Linked DNA regions of Homo sapiens: regions 1 and 2 are each linked to region 3. Evidence: promoter capture Hi-C in 16 types of primary human blood cells and fetal thymus (Javierre and others, 2016). All regions are on one chromosome and are shown on one strand. Each heading gives the region's core, a stretch centred on a gene start or on the middle of the fragment in contact. The rest is flanking DNA. Distances are from core to core; before and after follow the strand shown. Region 1 overlaps RAB31 (RAB31, member RAS oncogene family). Region 2 overlaps RAB31 (RAB31, member RAS oncogene family). Region 3 holds the start of PPP4R1 (protein phosphatase 4 regulatory subunit 1).

The links. Contacts are between HindIII fragments. The CHiCAGO score rates a contact against its expected background, and 5 or more counts as called.
Region 1: a contact is called between a fragment that was not itself captured here and the fragment with the promoter of PPP4R1 in region 3, in 2 of 17 cell types (neutrophils and endothelial precursors). The highest score is 7.2, in neutrophils.
Region 2: a fragment that was not itself captured here is called in contact with the fragment with the promoter of PPP4R1 in region 3 in 1 of 17 cell types (neutrophils); the score reaches 8.7 in neutrophils.

Annotation. Positions count from the first base shown.
Region 1 is chr18:9,753,413-9,757,715 of GRCh38, forward strand. All of the region lies in intron 1 of RAB31 (RAB31, member RAS oncogene family), which reads left to right. Among named protein-coding and RNA genes, the nearest start is that of RAB31, 47 kb to the left of the region's middle. The HindIII fragment of the contact is 936 bases long and covers 1,741-2,676 here.
Region 2 is chr18:9,802,607-9,806,641 of GRCh38, forward strand. The region is part of intron 3 of RAB31 (RAB31, member RAS oncogene family); the gene reads left to right. Among named protein-coding and RNA genes, the nearest start is that of TXNDC2, 81 kb to the right of the region's middle. The HindIII fragment of the contact is 6,092 bases long and covers 1-4,035 here.
Region 3 is chr18:9,612,038-9,615,808 of GRCh38, forward strand. PPP4R1 (protein phosphatase 4 regulatory subunit 1) reads right to left here and starts at 2,522. Exons shown (of 20, transcript NM_001042388.3): 1 at 2,441-2,522; 2 at 2,189-2,233. The coding sequence starts at 2,447. PPP4R1-AS1 (PPP4R1 antisense RNA 1) reads left to right here and starts at 2,770. Exons shown (of 3, transcript NR_110773.1): 1 at 2,770-2,977. RefSeq lists an enhancer at 1,639-1,718 and silencers at 1,989-2,238, 2,339-2,608, 2,709-3,218. The HindIII fragment of the contact is 7,461 bases long and covers 76-3,771 here.

The DNA of each region.
Region 1 (4,303 bases), core at 959-3,458, 140 kb after region 3:
ATGCCCTGCTCCACCTTGGGACTCTACAGAGTCCTCACCAGCAGGAAGGCCCTCACCAGATGCAGCTCCTCAACCTTGGACTCTCAGTCTCTGTAGCCATAAGAAATAGATTACTTTTCTTTATAAATTACTCAGTTTCAGGTACTATAAATAACAGAAAATGGATGGAGACAGATACCTTGGCTCTGAGCTTTTTTCTTCCTTGGCTTTTGAAGGCCTCTCCTGGTCCAGTGTGGATTCTGTAAAGCTTTTTTGAAGGTCTTTTAGCAATGAAGAAAGTATGTACTAGGAGATGAAGGCATGGGAATTGGCTCTAACCCCATTTCTACAAGTAGCGCGACTGTGAATTGTGGTGGGGCTCAAGTTCTTAATGTGTAAAATGGGAACGATGATACCTCCCAGAGTCATCAGAAGATCAAATACAACCATGAACGTGTTTGTGCTCTACGAGCTGTAATTCCTAAAAGATAGGTAGGTTAAGATGAAGAAAAGGCATTGTTGAGTTTCTCATGAACTTCTGATGCAAGGCGTGTTCTAGTGTATCATGCGTAAGGAATCTTTTCCAAGCCCGAGAAAAACTATCCGGTGCCAAGTGCATCACCACTGGGCATAAGTAGTCCCACCCAAGACAGGAGGGGTGCAGGGCTCCTGCCACTCTGCGTCATGAAGAGGAATTGAAAACAAAACTCCATCCTGTTGAAACCTTGAGGTCTAGCACTATATCTTGTCCTTGTTTGTGCATCTTACGTGCTTATGCAATAAGGTACTCTCAGCCCTCAGTATCTGTGAGTTCCATGTTTGTGGACTTAACAACTTTGGATTTCAAATACTGGGAAAAAAATTGTGTCTGTACTGAACAAGTACAGACTTTTTTCTCTTTTTTTTGAGATGGAGTCTCACTCTGTCACCCAGGCTGGAATGCAATGGCACGATCTTGGCTCACTGCAACCTCTGCTTCCTGGGTTCAAGAGATTCTCCTGCCTCAGCCTCCTGAGTAGCTGGGATTACAGGTGCCCGCCACCACACCCGGCTAATTTTTGTATTTTTAGTAGAGACGGGGTTTCACCATGTTGGTCAGGCTGCTCTCGAACTTCTGACCTCAAGTGATCCACCTGCCTAGGCCTCCCAAAGTGCTGAGATTACAGGCGTGAGTCACTGCACCCAGCCCAGACTTTTTTCTTGTAATTATTCCTTAAACAATATGGCATAACAACTATTTACATAGCATTTATGTTGTATAGGTATTATAAGTAATCTAGAGATGATTTAAAGTGTACAGGAGGATGTGCATGGGTTATATGCAAATACTATAACATTTTATATCAGGACTTGAACATTCTCAGATTTTGGTATCTGCAAGAGGTCCTGGAACCAATGCCCCCAGGATACCGAGGGACAACTGTATGTACTGTTGAATCTCCAATGTCTAACACAGTGCCTGGTGTGGCCTAGACATGGAATATGTGTTTAGTGAGTGGAAGAATAAAGGCATTACCATACCTGCTTGTCTCTCTGGCACTTGTCACAGGATTGCAAGCCCAGATGGTGTTTGTGAAGAGGCAGGAGTAGGTACAGTATGGAGGTCTACAGCTTGGGTTTCTGAGGCACAGACCAGGTTTTCCCAACTGTTTTCCCAGCCTGTTTTCCCAACTGTAAGGCGTCACACTAGTAAGTCTGTCATAGAATTAGATTGAAGATTAAATGAGGTGATGCAAATGAAAAGAGTCTAGCATACAGGAAAGCTTAACAGAATGTTAACTATCATCACCATCATTACTAATAACATGATTAGTGGTCTTAATAATTCATAGATATTCATGATGTGGAACTTGGAATCTCATTAGCTCCGTTTTGTCTTGATGTCTGTGACTGCCTTCTCTTGACTTTTCCCTTAGTCACCATTTTTTACTGCATTTTCAACCCAACTGGCCACATGTGCCTGCTTTGTAGTCCAGGTTCCCATCAGTGCCCTTGGCCTTACCCTCTGTGAGCAGGAGCTTCGTACTCTCTAGCAAGGTTTCAGATTAGTTTTCTGTGCTGGAGGAGTTGGAGGCATTTTTGGTAAGCTAAGGCTGTACTTGAGGACTAATGTCACGCTGTCAATTTTAGCTCATTGCTGTGATATCCAGCATAGCAGTAAGGAGCTGATCTGCAGTCACTTGCCCTCCTCTTTGAGCTTCAGCTCTTCTTGGGCTGGGGAACAGTTGAGGACACTGTCCAGGAACCAGAGACTGAATTTCCATGGCCTCATGGCAGCAGTACATGGATTTAGGTTGTTACCAGGAGGTTTGTCCACATGTGAGGCTGTCTCTGTTTTCATTGTCAGTCCCAGCCGTCACACCCCCTCTCTCCTTTGAATGAATGAAAGATGCTAGCGTGCCTCATCTCTGACCTCAGGAGGCCTGGACAATGGAAGAGGAAGTGGGGGCTTTTGCTGCCCTCTGCTCAGAGGCTGCAATGTGGCGTGGATTCTTCTGGCAGCTGTGGTTTAGGCTGCCTTGTGTTTCCTGGTAAAATTTCTTAAACTAAGAGTAATATTTTAGCATTTTTCTCCAAAGAGCATAGATTGAAGATGAGGGCTTAGTAATTTCCCTTGAGTTGGAAATTCATTGATGACTTTTATTTATATTTTGTAATGTCTGTTAAATACTTGCAGAAGTGCTGGATGATTGGAGAAGCTTTAAACCATGAGAAGGTCATGTGAGCATGGTAGTTGTGGGGATGCAGTAGATAGGGAGTTAGGGTTTTCTCAAACTCTGTACTCCCTCCCTTGCTTCCACATTCCTTTCCTCATGCAGTGCGATCAAGTATAGACCCTGATATAGTTAACCTTCATGAGTATAAGACAATTCCTAATACATCATGAGTCAAAAACCATTATTATTTAACTAGAACAGTGTAGAGTCAGGAAAGCAGGTAAGTTGTGGGCAGACTGTAATATCCCCAGCTTATAAATAATGTGGAAGTGTATTGACTGCTTGCTCTTCTCTGTACAGTTTGCAAGTGTGCATATATCTCATTTGATTAAATCACATCTGTTGTAATCTAGTGCCCTGATTAAGAGATTACAGCAGTTAACTGTATTGCACAGGACCTTGGCTTGGCAGTCGGCAAAGCCTTGAGCATTAATTCATATTTGTGAGTGGTCTGAGGATGCTGACTTTTCAAATTTATTATGGTTGGGATTTATGAACTGTTTCTTTTGTCTGCTCTATAGAAGTGAGCATGGAATGTAAGCCAAGCTGTCATTGTGGAGTCTTAGTGTTGATACGATAGACTCTGGTACTTTAAATCAGGCCACTGTCATCTATGATAATGCTTGGCACGTAGTAGGTGCTCAATAAAAATGCAGCAAATGAATGAACAGCTCCTAAATGGCCTTTGTTTCCAGTTTTGCTTTCCTCCAGTCCTCTTAAAATTCCACCACTGTGTGGTCTCATTGGCTCCCATTGCCCTCAGAACAAAGTTCAAACTCCCTAACGAAGTAACTGATGGTGCCCTTGGCTCCAGTTGTATAAGTTTAGGAGTCTGTTCTGATTGATTGGTGCCTTTCTGCACTATGGGTTTAGCTGACATGCTCCTACCAGAGTTTACGTCTTAGCCTGCAGTACATTCATTCCTCTCTTGTTTCTGGGTTATTTCTCCTTGGTGGGCATGTCAGTATGAGTTGGCGTTCAGTCAGGAAGCAGAGCTACTCTGAGTGTTATGGGAAAAGGAATTTATTACAGTAATCCCACTTAATACCAGTGTGGGTGGCTGGGGAAGGGGATGCCTGGGAGTCAGAGCCCGAAGATCAGAGAAACATCTCAAAACAGCAGCACCCGGCATGGTGGATGGTTGTGGCTCTCAAGGAAGCTCTGAGAAGCCAGAGGTGCCCAGCAGGGAAGCCGGCCTGCAGTGGGGACATGGAGCAGGTGCCTGCGGGCAGCCACTGCTCTGCGTAGCTCCTGCCTCTACACCCTACATTGGGAGGACCGCTGTTGGGAGAAGAGTCAGACACAGAAGAGAGGAGTGGGGACAAGTGGGGCTCTGCTGGGAACCTTGTCATCTCTGTGTGCTAAAGACCTTCAGAGAGTAATGCCCAGTCTTTACTTCCTGCAGATTCCTTTTTTGGTCAACTCTAGTCCAGAACTCTATGGAGAAGGGGCTTCTGGGAAGTGAGTGGTGTTCCTAGCTTTAGCCACGTTGAACCTAGGATGATCCAGGACACCGCATGCTGGGTCTGTGTAACAGTGTCTCTGTGGGCTGTGTGGACATGTGTGTGCACATGTATGCATGTGCATGTATGTGTGTGTTCATGTGT
Region 2 (4,035 bases), core at 1,280-3,779, 190 kb after region 3:
AGGAGATCTGGCCACCCCAGGCTGTTCAGCCATACCGCTTGTTCACCTCCTTCAGATTAATTTTGCAAGTGACTGCCAGTCTGCATGGTTTGAAAGATTAGGTGTTTGGAGATCATGTGCCCAGAGGGCTGGGATGCACTGGCACAAAGCTGTGCGGAATCGCTGGGTCTGAATGGGTCCTTGAGAAAGCAAAGGAACTGGAGGCAGCAGATAGCTGAGGTCAAATTCAGGCTTTACAGACATCCAAAGAAACTCTTTTGCTGTCTTTCCTGCTTTCTTCAGGGCCCCAACATCTATGGTCAAAAAAGTGGTTCACTATTCATAGGCCATTAGTAAAGTCAGAGGAAATTTTGACCTTTGGAAGTTCTTGAAGAATGGAGCCTCTTACAAGCTCAGAATGAGCAGCTCCTTTCTTTCTCCTGCAGGCATTGGAAATACAGTCCCAGCTGGCAACACCAGCCAGCAGCACAGCCCGGAATCCTGCTCCTGACCTGCACCATCCCCACCAGCCCACGATAGAACGTTTTTGTAGGCATTCCTCCTCATGGGAGAGGATAGAGTACATGCGAGTTTTTGCTCTCCTCCCACCCTTTCACAAGAGCACTGTGCTTTCTTTTCTTCTCTTTTTCCTTTCTTTTTTTTTTTTTTAGGCAGGGTCTTGCTGTGTCACCCAGGCTGGAATGCAGTGGTGCAATCATAGCTCACTGCAGCCTTGACCTCCTGGACTCAAGCAATCCTCCTGCCTTAACCTCCCGAGTAGCTGGGACTATAGGCACCAGCCACTATGCCTGGCTAATATTTTTTGTTTGTTTTTTGTTCAGAGACAAGGTCTCACTATACTGTCCAGGCTGGGATGACTGTGCTTTCTACCAATGCAAACTGAGATCCCGGCAAGGGAAATATTCCCTTCCTCCATGCCCCTAGTAACTCTCTTGAAAGAGAAAACTGAGTGATGATTGTGTGGGGAGGAGGCAGGCCTGGAGCTTGAAGATAGGGTTTATGCTGTTGAAGTGAGATAAACAGCTGTGGTGAGGGCCATGCCTGCTGAGCTCCTTTAAGGAGAAGCCCCAGGAATCCTTCATTAAGCACTTTACAGCTGAAGAGTTTCATTGATATTTGAAAATTGGTGCTGGAAACTACAAAAGCAAAGTGTGAGCAGAGGTATTGGAGAGGGGCATGAGGGGACCCTGACGGCAGCTGTGCAGGTGGAGCAGGGACTGCCTCGGTCCACAGACGTGGCCCCCAGAACTGTCGTGCCATTTGCGGGGGTTGTGTCCTGTAAGAAAATAGGAATCTAGGTGCAGAACAGCCCTCCTGGGTGTCAGAATGCCAGCGACAGGAGAGAAGGAGGAAGGACATGTTCATATACGAAGATACCTTTCGGGAGTTCTTAGGGAAACACTGTAAACAGCTCTGCCCTGAGCCCGGGAGGTGGCCATGCTGGCAGTGAGGGATGTGGCCTGGGCCGTGGGAACACAGAGGCGGCCAGAGGGGAAAGCCTCAGAGCTGCGTGGACAGGCTTCTTCTGCTTACACACGGGCTTCTGCCCTGCTCTTGCCCCTCGGGGGTTCTTTTGTCACTGGAGACCCTGCTGTTGCCCTTTGCTCTCCAGTGCGTGTCCCCTTCTTCCATATGCCCCCTCCTTGGTGGGGACAGGCTGCTCTGGGAGGTACAGTGACTGCGCTAGATGAACACCTTCCCAGGTCAGGCAATGACATTTTGCTGATGTGTGTTTTAGTCTGGGATGCCCTGAGTAGCTTCTAATTATGAGGCACTGTCTGTGCCTCTTGGGTGGAGGCCAAGTTTCCATTCTGCCAACTCTCAGAGGACGTGGGGCCAAAACACAGAGCCGCTGAGACAGGAGTTTCAGGGGGTCTGGAGGTGGATTTGCCGAGAATCTAAGAAGCACTTCAACTAGTTTTGTTTCCTCTCCTCCCTTCCACTCCCTTTCCCTTCTGTCCTCTTCTTTTCTTTTATGGAGCTAATTTCCTACGTCTGGCTAAAATACAGTAGAAAAGCCCTATAAAGCCTATGAGTGTCACTCTTGAATAGGAAATTAGCAAATAGACTTTGTTTGGTAACAGAAGAACCTGTTCCTGAGGCGCTGACAGCCTGTCCTAACAGAGGCAGCTGGGCTGCAGTGAGCACGGACCTGTGGTAGGAAGACCTCTGCATCCAGAGTGGCCCGGTGGAAGGTGCCAGACTCCCCCTCACTCCAAAAAAAAGAGGAGGCTTTTTGAGGGCAGGGACCTTGTTACCTTCTTCACTTTCTTTTTTTGTTTCCAGTTGTTGCTGTAACAGATTGCCACACGCTCAGTGGCTTAAAACAACACAGATAGACTCCCTTAGAGCTATGAAGGTCAGAAGTCAGAAATGGGTCTCATGCCTGTGGTCCCAGATACTTGGAGGCTGAGATGGGAGGATCACTTGAGCCCAGGAGTTCAAGACCAGCCTGGGCAATATAATGAGACTCCCATCTCTACAAAAAGTTTTTAAAAAATTAGCCAGGTGTGGTGACATGCAGCTGTAGTCCCAGCTACTCAGGAGACCGAGACAGGAGGACCACTTGAGCCCAGGAGGTTGAGGCTGCAGTGAGCCGAGATTGCACCACTGCACTCCAGCCTGGGCAACAGAATGAGACCTTGTCTCAAAACAAAAACAAAAACATAAAAAGATTAAAAAAAAAAAAAGAAATAAGTATCACTGGAATAAGATTAAAATATCTGCAGACCTTAATCCTTCCTGGAGGTACAAGGGCAGAATCTTGTTTCCTTGCCTTTTTCAGAGACCACTCGCATTCCTTGGCTTGTAGCCCCTTCCTTTGTCTTCAGAGCCAGCAGAGTAGCATTTTAAATCTCTCTCCCACTCCCCTGCCTCTCTCTTTCACTGTTGAGGAGCCTTGTGAGGACACTGGGCCCACCCAAGGAATGCAAGATAATGTCCTCATATGAAGGTCAGCTGATGAGCCCTATTCCACCTCCCATGTAACCTAACATAGTCACAGGTGATGGGGATTAGGACATGGACCTCTTTGGGGGACACTATTCTGCCCACCACACTCCAGTTTCTCTGCTGCTCAGAACAGTGCCTGCCACATACTGAGCGTTCAAACAGTGAGATACTGTTTGTTGAATGAATGAATACATTTGATGTAAACCTGTGTCTTAATTATATCAACTGAAGCAACGTTTCATTTCAGAGAAGCAACACAGGAATGGAAAATGCATGGAATTTGGAGTCAAGACCTGTGTTCAAAGTCTTTTCCACCATTTAAGAGCTGTGTGTCGACTGGGCGCAGTGGCTCACGCCTGTAATCCCAGCACTTTGGGAGGCCGAGGCGGGCGGATCACGAGGTCAGGAGATCGGGACCATCCTGGCTAACATGGCGAAACCCCGTCTCTACTAAAAAAATACAAAAAAAGTAGCCAGGTGTGGTGGCAGGCATCTGTAGTCCCAGCTACTCGGGAGGCTGAGGCAGGAGAATGGCGTGAACCCGGGAGGCGGAGCTTGCAGTGAGCCGAGATGGCGCCAGTGCACTCCAGCCTGGGCAACACAGAGAGACTCCGTCTCAAAAAAAAAAAAGAAGAGCTGTGTGTCTTTGGGCAATTCACTTAACCATGCTGAGCCTCAGTTTTCTCATCTGAATAACAGGAACAACTCTGTCTTCTCTCCCTGGTTTCACAGGGTTATTGACTTTTATTACATGCATTCAGTCATTAAATATTTGTCGAGTCCTTGCTATGGTCCAGATAGGGATTCAGGGAAGGGTTCTCAGGGAGGGTGGCAGTTGATTAAAGGTGTGACAGAAGTGAGGGAGGGGCCTTGAGGATGCTGGTGGAGGAGGGTCCAGGCTGCTAGAAGGCGTCAGGGAAGGTGCGGAGGCTCGGTGGGCCTGCCTCTGTGTTTAGGGAGCAGCGAGAAGGCCGGGGCTGGAGACAAGCAGGGGAGGGGCCCAAGAAGGGACCAGGGCGGGCCCAAGAAGGGACCAGGTCCCACCCAAGATGCCACAGAATGGAGCTTGGCTTTTATACTAAG
Region 3 (3,771 bases), core at 1,272-3,771:
AGCATTGGCAGCATCTTTAAGTACCTTCATTCTGTAAGGTTCAACATCAGTGTTTCCTTCTCTGCTCTTCTTTTAAGCTTCCCTTGCTCTTTTCTCATAACAGCAAACATAATCATAATCATCGCTGTTTACCAGGAATTGTTCCAAGTGCTTCAGAGGCACTAACTCATGTACAGCCTTGAACAACTCTATGAAGTAGGTAATATTTCTTATGCCTACTTACAAATGACAAAACTGAGGCATAGGGAGGTTAAGTGAGTTGCCCAAGTCTGCCCAAAAAGACACTGCTAAGACAAACAGAGCAGCCTGGCTCCAGTGGTAACTGTAATACTGTACTGTACACCTAGATTCAAAACTGCTTGTAAACCACTAGAGGGCATGGGTTGTGCCCATCTTTCTCAAAGCTCCATCCCCAGTACCTGGCAGAGTGTTGAAACTCATGGTTGAATTTTTCACAGGTATGCCTTCCCCTCTACACTGTGCTTCTTGGGGGCTAAGGAAGAAACTGAGACTGCATTTCATCCTTCAGGAGTGAGAAGTTTTTGCTCCAGTCATAAATACTTGCTGAATAAATGAATCTTCTATTTACGAAGTCGAACATAAATATAAAAAGCCCTCCTCGAGGTAACATAATCAGGGCCATTTCTCCAATCCTAACCTGGCAAGAGATCTGAAATCAACAGATGCCTTAAATAATATCTCAAACTTACTATTAGGCAGATAAGTGGCTTAAGGTAAACATTAAATAAAATGTTAAAGCTGCCCTTCACTACATGAGTACTGCTCCCTTTAAGAGAGCTGTTTTGAGCCACCTCACTAAAAACACAGACTTAGCAAAAGTTTGGATGTGGTTCATTTACTTTAAAGATAAATTACTCGTTTCAGATAATCCATCTAAATAGTAAATCCCCCTTACTTTACTCAAAACAACCAGGAATCTAAAAATTAAGTTTACTCTGAGTAAGGGAACCACATTAGACAATGCTAAGGATTAACTACAGAGTATTTAAAAGAGTAATTTCAAACTGCAGCCATCTCTGAAATTACTTATACAGGTACTAGACAGTCAATCTCAGCATCCGGTAGGCTTTCCACTAAACAGACCACAATCCTACTATGGTTATCATCTCAACTCAGAACAATTTCTTGGTCCCTTATGTATCCCATGATCTTCGCTTATATATTTTGCACACTCTGCATTTTTAAAATGCATCTCAAAACCTATTGATTTTTTGATGGGTCGCTATTTTGGAAGATTAGCAAGAATAGAAACTATTTTAAGTTAACTGCAATTTGTCACTTCTTTCAATACAAACCTGCTTAACTCTTTTGTCTTTTCTATCGTGACCCAAATTATTTTCTGAGGCTTAGAAAAGTACATATAAGACGAAAAATTCCTTTCTAAATATCAATTCCGTCGCCATCAGGAAATGTCAGAAACTTTGTCTTTTTAAAAATAAAAGCGTCAACTCTTTAAAAACTTCAGTACCTCAAAGGAAAGCTGCACTGTTAACACTGAAGGAGGGCTGGGTGATTTCTGAACATCCGCATTAAAGAAATATGCTCTCCAAACCTAGTAATTCCTGCGGAGGCCACACCTTCTAACCTTCTCGTAATCCACTAATCAAATCGGGAGCATCTGAAAACTGCTACCAGCCAAAGTAAAATGACAGGTATGTCATCCTCAAACAATCCAAAACCGGGTCGGGGAGCCCAGACGGCTAGCCGGGGCCCAGGCTGACCCCCGGGCGCTCCTGGAAGAGCGACTCTAAGGAAACACACCTCCCGCGCGAGCCTCTTCCTTCCTAGAGTGACGGGGGAAGGGGACACCAGGGGCAGAAACACACCCAAACCCCACTTCAAATCCTGCCCCACCGCTTCTCCTTCCAAAACAGCCGCGCCACTGCTGAGCCCGCAGGCGATTCGGGGGCGCCGGGAGAAGAGAGCGAAGGGCGGAAAGCGAACTTGGGCGTTACTCCGGGCGTCTCCCTCCCCCAGCGGAACCTGGGCGCGCCGTTTCCTCACGGACGCGAGATTTTCCCCCCCGATCGCCACCCCAGCCCGCCTGGGGCCGCCCTCGCCCACCGTCCCCTCAGCCAGCCAGGGCCCGGCCCAGGCCTCGCCGCCGCCCGCCCTCCCCGGCCGCTCCCCGCGGACTGCCAGGCCACCGCGAGGCCGGGCCACTCACATCCGTCTGCGTCCTCCTGCAGGTCCTCCTGAAGCAGCGAGAGGTCTGCGCCGAGGGGAGAGAAGAAAGGCCCGGTCAGCGCCCCGGGGCCCGGCGCGACGCCCCCCCCCCGCCCGCCTCCCCCCCGCCCCGGGGGCGCCTTCCCGCGCCGGGACCCCACGCCGGCCCCGGCCCGGCAGCCACTCAGGGCTGCGGCGGAGGGCGGGTGGGCTCGAGGAGCCGCCGCCGCCCGGAGAACAGGGGGCCACGTACCCGCCATCTTGTGGTCGCCCCCTCCTCCGCGGCCGCCCGGGGAGCCGGGGCTACATGGAGCGGCGCGAGCCGGGGAGCCGGTGGACGCGCGCGGGAGGGGCGGCGGGGAGGAGGAGGGCCGGGCTGGCGGGGGCGCGCGCGCGGGGCGGGCCGAGGGCCCGGGCCTGCCGCGGGCGGCGCGGCTCCCGGCCGCCCGGGCCCCCGGCCGCGCCCCGCCCCGCCCCGCCTGCCCCTCCGCGCGGCTCCCGGGCGACCGGCGCTCCCGCCTCCCGCCTTTCCCGCTGCTTGCCGGGTCCCGGCCCGGCGACGCGCGCTCACACCCTCCTCCCGAGCCGCCCTCACGCCGAGCGCTGCGGACGGGGGCGCGCAACCTGCCGCCGGCCGGGACCCTGCGGCGAGTGCCGGAACCCGGCCGGGCGGGGCCTCCCGCGGCCCGGCCGCTTTATTGGGTCACCGGCCTCGCCCACCGCCCTGCCAGCCGCAGCCATCTCGGCGGGCGCGCCGCTCGCAGCCAGCGCCCCATCCCCAGGCCTGCACGTACGTCGTCGGCGATCCGGGGCCGGGGGCGGCTCCGAGGTCGTCGGGGCCGGGGTCCCACCTCCTCTTGGAGGAAGCGCCGCCTCCCCACCCGCCCGGGGCCCTCGCCAAGTGGCTGCTAACAAAGCCCAGGGCCCGGCTGCGGGATGGTTGACTGACAAAGTCATGCCTGCCTAGCCAGCTTCCTCGTGCAGCACGGTGAAGGCTGGGGCGCCGGGTTTTTACTCCCACGTCCTGCCAACTCGAGCTGACAAGGCGGGCAATCCACCAGCGGGAGCGTTGGCAGGCCCGGGGTCAGATCCTGATTCAGCCAGTTAATTGGTAGGAGTGGGGCCCATTTGTAGAATGAAGGTGATAACTGCCTCGTGGGGTTATTGGCATTAAATGAAGAATGTAGGGAACCTAGCATGGTTCTTGATGTCTAGGAGGTGCTCGGTGAAGGGTGCCTATGATTCGCTTTGTCTTCTAAATACTTTTGGCAGCACTTGAGGTGTTAAAGTCTGTATCCCAGACTTTATTAGTCTTGTTGTTTTACGTGACTTAAGCGATTAGCTCAAACGCCCAAGTACAAAATGGGGCTAAACCCAGGTTTTCCGACACGATTCTACCTCCATGGCTCTATCTCCAGCTCCACCCAAGGCCTCCAAAATGGTGTTCTCCTAAAGTGACCAACAAAACACCAAGCTGTGTCATGGTGCCACTTTGGCGATGTGGTCTCTTAGGAGAGGGAATTCTAAGTAGTTAATTAGCTTGTTCCTTTCTACGTTGTAGTCTTGACCAAGGACAATGTGTTG